Linked DNA regions of Homo sapiens: region 1 is linked to region 2. The links are contacts of gene promoters, found by promoter capture Hi-C in blood cells and fetal thymus (Javierre and others, 2016). All regions are on one chromosome and are shown on one strand. The core of a region is centred on a gene start or on the middle of the fragment in contact, and the rest is flanking DNA. Distances in the headings are between cores, read along the strand shown.

Region 1 (4,017 bases), core at 1,505-4,004, 74 kb before region 2:
TTTTTTTTTTTTTTTTTTTTTTTTTTTTTTTTTTTTAGATAATGTCTTTATTGCCCAGGCTGGCTCTCACTGCAACCTCCACCTTCCAGGTTCAAGCAATTCTCATGCTTCAGCCTCCCGAGCAGCTGGGATTACAGGCACACACCACCACACTGAGCTAATTTTTTGTATTTTTAGCAGAGATGGGGTTTTGCCATGTTGGCCAGGCTGGTCTCAAACTCCTGGCCTCAAGTGATCTGCCTGCCTCGTCCTTCCAAAGTACAGGGATTACAGGTGTGAGTCACTGCAACCTGCCTCTGCTGGCTCTTCTGTAGTCCAGATTTTCTGTAATAAAATCCTATTTTATTTTTGTATTAAGAAAAATAAATCTGTAAGCTATTTTTAAGAGAAAACAATGATGTTCATTACAACATTGTGCAGAATAGTTATTAGTTGGAAACTACCTAAATTTCCACTAATGGGGTAATGGTATATTTCGGGGTATTTTGGTTTCTACATTAAAATGTTAATTACTTGTTTCTTAAATTTTACATTGCTTAGTATTTTTATTTTGTTTTAGGTAAACTTTGGAGTCGGAGTTTAAAACTAGCTTATACTCTACTTAATAAACTGACAAGTAAGAATGAACCTCTACTTAAACCTGGAGACAGAGTAAGTAACTAGAATGTCACTTTGTTGGAAGGAGCAAAAGCAGGGACTTAAATAATCTGTTTCATTGAAATTAGTGTTCTATCATTTAGTTAGAATTACAGCATTAATACAAGGGATTTAAAATCAGCAGTGAGGACTGGGTGCGGTGGCTCATGCCTGTAATCCTAGCACTTTGGGAGGCTGTGGTGAGCGGATTGCCTGAGCTCAGGAGTTTGAGACCAGCCTGGGCAACATGGCAAAACCCTGTCTCTACTAAAAATACAAAAAATTAGCTGGGCGTGGTGGTGCGTGCCTGTAATGCCAGCTACCCGGGAGGCTGAGGCATGAGAATCTCTTGAACCCAGGAGGTGGAGGTTGTAGTGAGCCAAGATCTCGCCACTGCACTCCAGCCTGGCGACAGAGTGAGACTCCGTCTCAAAGAGAAAAAAAAAAAAAAGCAGTGAAAAATATTAAATATGGCAAAGTTTGTGATGTAGAGTAAAGCAGCATTCTTTTTCTGCACTCGTTGTTTCATTGTTTGTCCACTGTTTCTTCATCTTCTTTTCTGTTTGACTTCATATATGTTGATATTAAAAATGTTAGATTCCAGAGCTTAGATTTTATGAATTAAAATCTGAAGGTCTGAAACCCTGCTGTGAAATTCTGTATTTTTATCTCCTTCCCTATTCTATGTGTCCAGGTAACCTCCTTGTACCTATCTGCCAAAATAGGATGCTGGAGACTTATTCTCTTGTGCTACACTGCCCTATATGGTTGGCAGTAGCCATTTGGGGCTATTTAAATTAACCAAAATTAAATAAAATAAAAAATTTAGTTTCTTGGTTGCACAAGCCACATTTCAAGGGCTCAGTAGGAGTGTGGCTAGTAGCTACTGTATTTATAGATCAGAGGTAGAACATTTCTGTCATCATAGAAACTTCTGTTGGACAGTACTACTGTAGGCAAGCTGGACCAGACCGGAGGACCCTGGTATACTAGAAAGTCCAGGGTGGAAAATAGGAGAACATGGTGAAAATCAACATACCAGTGAAATCCCCTAGTGAGAAGGTCACCTGTGTCAGATCACCCAACAAGGAAACTGCAGGTTAACAAGCTGGCAGACAGTTCCAAGTAGCTCTTTCAGTGCCTAAGTCTTTAATATGAACTATTAGCCAAGGACTTTTAAGAAGGAAATGTCAATATGAGAGAAAATACCAAAAGACAAAGAAAAGGGAAGGGAAGAGAGGGAGTGAGAAAGAGACAAGAAAAGTAAGGAAGGGAGGAAAGAGGAAACAACAAGGAAAGCTAGATACAGAAAACAATGTTTCTAAAAAGTGAGTATTAATATTCTTGGAAATCAGAGATGAAGATGTTTCATAAGTCAAGAAAAGGATGCCGGTAGGAAAGACTAAGAGATGGAGAGCGGAGTAAAATAGGACAAAAAGACTCGATCAAGAAGACACAACACCTGACTGATAACTGGAGTCGAGAAAGAGAAAGGAGAACAGAAAGTAGAACATTTTAAATGAAAATAGTAATTCAGGACAATATCCCGGACCTGGAGAGTGTAAACATTCAAGGATGCACACCAAAACGCATGCCCATAATATTGCATAATACGAGGGGTACAGAAAAGAATCCCAGAGCTTTCAGGGGAAAAGTAGGATGTACACAAAGGATTGGCAATGACAGTGGCTTTTGGGATTTCTCATTGGTAAAACTGAAAGAGAGTGGAATGATGCTTCAGACATTCAGAGGGAATATAATTTTAACTTAAAATTCTGTTCCCAGAGATTCAACAGATTTGAGAATAGTATAGCCATTTTCAGACATGCAGGACTCAGAAACGTTTGGCTCGCAAGCACTTTCTTGTCAAGTTCTTAGAAGATGTCCCTCAGCCACATGAGTGAGTGAGTGAGTAGGGTGCAAGCAGGAGGACCACAGTGGAGGCCCCAGGACGATCACTGGCAGCAGTCCAGGGGGGGCAGCAGAGCCACCATCAGGAGAACCAAGACTCCAGGGTGGGGTGGAATCCTCAGCACCCACCATCAGGAGAACCGAGACCCTCAGCAGTGGAGTCCTCAGCAGCAGGGGACACTCACGGCTCTCCTGAGTGGGTGGTTATTTGGAAAATGACCCACCAGTAGGTGGGTATTTGACCCAGCTGAGGGAGTATTTTAAAACAAATTAGCTAGAGAATACACAGAAAGCAACGCAAGTAGAAATGGAGGTAGCTGTTATCAGAAAAGAAAGGAAATGTGTACTTGGCTATAAAAATGTAAACAGTTTAAGAATAATACTTTATGATATGTTGTGCTCATAGATGAGATTTTATGCAACGCTTTAGAATGAATTCAAGAATCACTAATTTTCTTGAAAAACATTCTTACAAGGATAAAGACTTTCAGATTCTTGACTTGCAAGAGAATCTCTTTGGTTAGGTGAATCATAATAAAATGGACAAGGTCACAGTGATTGAGTTGAAGAAATTGGTGGCAAATTCTGCCTCCTATAATATTACACTTTATAAAAGTGAGCACAGCTCTTCCTAACAAATTCTGTAAAAATATACTTTCCATACCAAACATCTAGTCTGAAGGTTATAGGTTACATTCTGGGCAACCACTGTTAAAACCAAATTTTGAAGGAGAACCTTGCCCTTTTCAACAAACAAACTTGTTAGAAACTAAATTTCCAGACCTCAAGTACAGAATATAGATACAGCTTAAATTTTGTCTTACAAAGTCAGCACTTATTGGTTATTCATTGTTGCGTGTTCTCAAAGGCCCTGAGTCAACTGTCTCTACTCAGTTAAATACTATTTGGACTTGTCCCTTATGGTTTCAAGCACAATTATTACAATATTTGGGGCTTACAAAAATTTTATTTATAACTAGCTTTTAATTTAACTAGATATTGTAAAAATTGGAAATTTGGAATATTCATTTCTTTGTCCTGTTGTAGGTGGCGCTCGTGTTTCCGAATAGTGACCCTGTGATGTTCATGGTTGCATTTTATGGGTGTCTCCTGGCAGAGCTGGTTCCTGTCCCCATAGAAGTGCCATTAACAAGAAAGGTAGCAAACCCATGGCTCAGGTCCCGTGTGGTTCGCTTCTGAACTTGATACCAGCAGTATCTTACTTCCTTTTCACTCATGTGGGCAGGCAGCAAGCAGCTGTTTTGACAGAGGAGAGAAAGCTAGTAGTCAACAGGCTGGCCAGGACTCAAGAGAAATCAGATGCCGTTTTGCCTGCCTCTCTTCTTGTTAATGAGAGGGGCACTGAGAACCGTTTTGCTGGTGATGCTCCCACACCACACTCTTATTAGGTGGAGCTGTTCTATCATCTACATGAATTTCCCAACAGAAATGATAGCCATTTTTTCCTCT
Region 2 (4,247 bases), core at 337-2,836:
AATATCTGGTCAGTCTGGGAATGAGGCGCATTTTACAAAGGTTGCCTTGTCAGTTGTTTCACAAAACAGATGCGCAGTCAGAGAAATTTACCAGCTTTTGGCCTTGAGTTCTAATCATTAAATAAGAACGTTTGCGCTGTCATAATTAAAAACAAATTAATAAATCAAATAGTGTTGAAAAATCATTCCCATGTTGAATATATAACTTACATCTTAAAAATAATTTGGAATTATTTTATTTATTTCTGATCCTCCGAAGGAAACAGGATTGAAGATTTTTTTATACTGGCCAGATCTTTGCTAAAGTCATTCTATTAATAATCAGTGTACTTTATTTTGCTCTTGAGTCCCTAAAAATTTGATAATTCACAAATAGAACAATTAAGATGGATTAAAATCTTTAACATTTCATGCTTTCTTATTCTTTGCACTCAAGTTTTCAATTATTGATATATGCATGTTTGTATGTGTGTGTATTTTTTTAAACAAAACAAGACACTTTTACATCATTCTGATGCTCCTCAAAGTCCATGATGATTTGGGGAAAAGGAGGTTAAATTGTTTTTCTATGAATTGTGACTAATGGGATTATTACAAAGGAAAGGCATAAAACATGTATCCCATATATTAGAACACTAATAGAAACCACTAGAAAATATGGTTTTCTTCATAACCACACTACAAATCAATTAAATTCTTGTTAAATTTTTCCCTTTGACCTAAGAAATAGTTGATGGTTTATAGTTTATCTTTTAAGAGAAATGGAAATAAATGTCCGTTTCTTTCTCACATTCTTTGAATGTCCTACATTAATCTTTTAATATTGAGAACAAGAGAACTTTTGAACTTTAACTCCTTAGAAAGACAAGTTACCTAGCGTGTGAGGATCCCTCTAAAGAAGGGGTTCGACCTCCCTGAGAAACTGTGAGACTGAGGAAAGTTAAAACCCACCAAAACCCCGATTTCTTTGACCCAATTTATTTGTAATTGTTACGTAATTTCTGAGTGGCGTCCTGGGGCTGTGGGGACCCTGGCACTTCAAACTGAGGGAAACTGGAAAACTGAAGAGTTACTTACCCAGGGCGGTGGAAGAAATATAAGGAGAAAAGGGAAGCATTTATTTATGATATAGGACTAAACTAGCATTAGGTTCTCCATCATTTTTAGCCCCAGTGGGAAGCAAAATCTTTACTCTTCAAATAGTTACAGAAGAGGCAGTATTTGTAGTACCGCTGGGAAAATGTCAACAATCACTTCTGGGCCATGAAACCTGACGTTTCTCTGATTTATGGCAAAACACACCTCTAGCTGTCTAGGGCTGATGCAGTCAGGTGTCCACAAAGCAGCAGTAATGTGGAGATTAAAACACATCATCCTATTGACACTTCTGAAATGCTGCCAATTGTCCTAAAGGGGCTTTTTAAGCTACCACTTAGTTTCTACCCCTCCATTCCGTTCCACCCAAAAGAAAAGAACCATTTCTTCCTGAGCGTCCTCTTGGCCTGGCTCTTTCTCACCTCTTCCTTGTCTCACCCCTTCCTGGTCTCCTTGCTGCAGGCGTCGTCTCTGCTGCGGGTCCTGGGCGGCAGGACTGGTGGGCAGAGGCAGCCTCTTATTCCCTCTGCCCAGGGAGGATGGATGAACCCTGGTGCAGCCCACTGCAGGCCGTGGCAGCCAATGGGAGCCGAAGGCGGGGGTGGCAGGGCTGCCAGGCCTGCACACAGGGCTGCATTGACCAAGCAGCCCCGGGGACTTGCTGGGAGCCAGGATTGCACATGGGCTGAGGAAGAAAAAAGGGCCTGTAGGGCAGGAAGTGGGGAGTCAGCTTTTTGTGCGATTTCTTTATTACATGAATATTGATGTCACCCTAAAGGCAAGGTTGGGGGTGGGGAGAGGAGAGAGACTTGGATTAATTGATTCAAACAAAGCAAATGTGCAGCCAAGAACAAGCAGCTTCCAAGTACAGGCTGAGCATAGGAGATTAAGTGGCCTGCAAGTTGGTTTCTAATGGAGAGGCCCCTGGAGCTTCTCTCCTCTGCCATCCTCCAAGTCTGGCCCCACTGGGCGTGAAGTTCTGTGGACAGTAGTGCTTGTCTGTGGTCAGCCCTGGGCTCAACGGGGCTGCCTCAGAGAAGCTGCTGAGGCCAGTGTCTGCAGGGACTAAAACGGGTGGTACTTTTAGGGGAAAACGTGATGTGTGGACTGTATCCCAAGGCCTTTCCCTCCACCCCAGGGTGGAAGGTCACAGACTCTCAGAGTTGGACGATGCCTTAGAGATGTCCCGTTCGAACGCTGTTTTACAGAGGCGTGTGGACGGTGTGCCCCCTTGCTGAAGCCTCCAGCCAGCCTGAGGAAGGAGAAGTCCAGCTGTCCCCTCAACTCGCTCGACTGGAGCCTCTGAACACGGGGGCCAGTTTATGGGTTCTTCTTCACAAGAATGAAGAAGTAGGTGTTCCTTCTGACAAATTACACAAGAACATTGGCCCAAACTCTCCAAAAATGTCCATGGTCCCCAATGGATGCCTGACCCAGCATCACGTCCTTCTCCCAACCCAGTTTCAAAGTGGCCGTGAAAGGGTTTCCCACAAGATATCTGTGTACATGGCTGTCTTGCTGTCATTGTTTTATCCAGGACGTTCTCTACCATTCAGGATCTGTAAGTGTGCCCTGGAAATAGCACAGGGCTGAGAGCTGTGGTCTTGCGTGGCTCAGCCTGCCCCAGCCTCCTGTGAGGAACAGCCTGAGCAGTGTGGTTGGCCCTCACTTCCTCATCGGCTTCACCACCCCTGGCTGTGGTCTCTGCTGAAGGATCTGACACAGGCTTGCTCTGTGAAGCACAGAGCTTGCCCAGGCCCAAGGAAGGCACAACTGTGCTCTGTGCCCCTTCCTCGCTCAGATGTTGGAGGGACCATTCCTGTAAGTGCTGACCACTTCCCCAGAGTGGCAGCCTGAGCTCTGGATTAACCCTTCAGTGTCCATAGAAAACGCTCTAGCCTGCTCCTGCAGGGGTTAAAAATAGTTTGAAATCCACTCATGCAATGACCGTACACCTGTGCTTAGGGCACTGCGTTCAGCAGGAGGGCCCAGCCGGGCCTGCCCTCTGCACACTGCAGCTTCCTGGGATGGCAAGTGTGGGGCCGTGGGTCCACCCTGTTCCCAGGTCTTGGAAGCAGGCTGAGAGAGAGGATCTGCCACAGGGAGGAAAAGGGCTTTCAAGCGCTCTGGGGCCCCAGGATGGTATTCTTTGCCCAGGCTCCCCAGGAGCTCGTGGATACAACCTCACCAGCTTCCCACAGATTCCTACAATTGCTGGGTCTGAATCTTGGCTCCACCATTTAACAGTGGTTTGACTTTGGATAAATTCCTAAGCCTTTCTGTGAAAGGGGTGACCGTAGTCCCTACTTTGCAGGGTTGTTCTGGGTGTTTTTCCCTGACCTTCACACTTCCTGATCACCCTGGCTTACCTGTCCTGACCCCTCAGTTTTAATCTTATCCCATTAGACTGGACAGCCACCAGATCCAATCATGTGTGACTCCCACATTCACCCACCCCCTGCAGCTACATTCCACAGGAAGACCCTTCGCTAAGTAATGAGAAATGCATTATTGAGTGAGTGGAACACCTGAAAAGTTCCATGGTCTGTAGCCTACATATGACCATGTGGATTGCTAGACTAGACCTCTGATTTCAGCGGGACGATAATATTTCAGAGTAGCAGGCTAAGACAAGGTGGGCATGTCAGCCATAAACAGCAGAAGGAACACACCGATAATCAGAATGCCTTGGTCCACAGAGATTTTTGGCAGTGGTGAATTGCTCACAGTGTTCCTTAGAATGAAGAGATGGACAGTCGCTAGAGTAGTCTTTAATCCACACAACAGGAAAACCTCTAGGTCTGGTCACCGAAGTACCTAACTTGAATCACCACAGTGGAGATCATGGGCTCTCTCCGAGTTTCCAGACCTAAGTTGGGTCAGACCTAGAGCATCTTGATTGAAGGGAGAAGCCAAGGCCCCTTGAGAAAGAATCTGTGCTAGTGAGAAAGAATACCATAAACCCTCTTCCACACCTTTTCTGAAGTGTCCTGCAGCCATCAACTAATGAAAAGGAAGTAACCTAGATGTCTCAGGGATTGCCTCAATTGACATAAATTCCTGGGAACCAAAAATGGCACTGTGGCTCACCAGTCAAAGCAGAAACTTGTGATGGTCAGTTCTTCACTTGATAGAGGTTCTAACATGAGACC

What was found. The method cuts DNA at HindIII sites, captures the fragments that hold promoters and counts their contacts. A CHiCAGO score of 5 or more calls a contact.
Region 1: a contact is called between a fragment that was not itself captured here and the fragment with the promoter of S100B in region 2, in 1 of 17 cell types (naive CD8 T cells). The highest score is 5.0, in naive CD8 T cells.

The regions. Positions count from the first base shown.
Region 1 is chr21:46,528,533-46,532,549 of GRCh38, forward strand. It overlaps DIP2A (disco interacting protein 2 homolog A), which reads left to right. Exons shown (of 38, transcript NM_015151.4): 9 at 560-651; 10 at 3,595-3,705. Among named protein-coding and RNA genes, the nearest start is that of DIP2A-IT1, 68 kb to the left of the region's middle. The HindIII fragment of the contact is 8,719 bases long and covers 1-4,017 here.
Region 2 is chr21:46,603,496-46,607,742 of GRCh38, forward strand. S100B (S100 calcium binding protein B) reads right to left here and starts at 1,587. Exons shown (of 3, transcript NM_006272.3): 1 at 1,518-1,587. RefSeq lists an enhancer at 2,625-3,126. The HindIII fragment of the contact is 9,714 bases long and covers 1-4,247 here.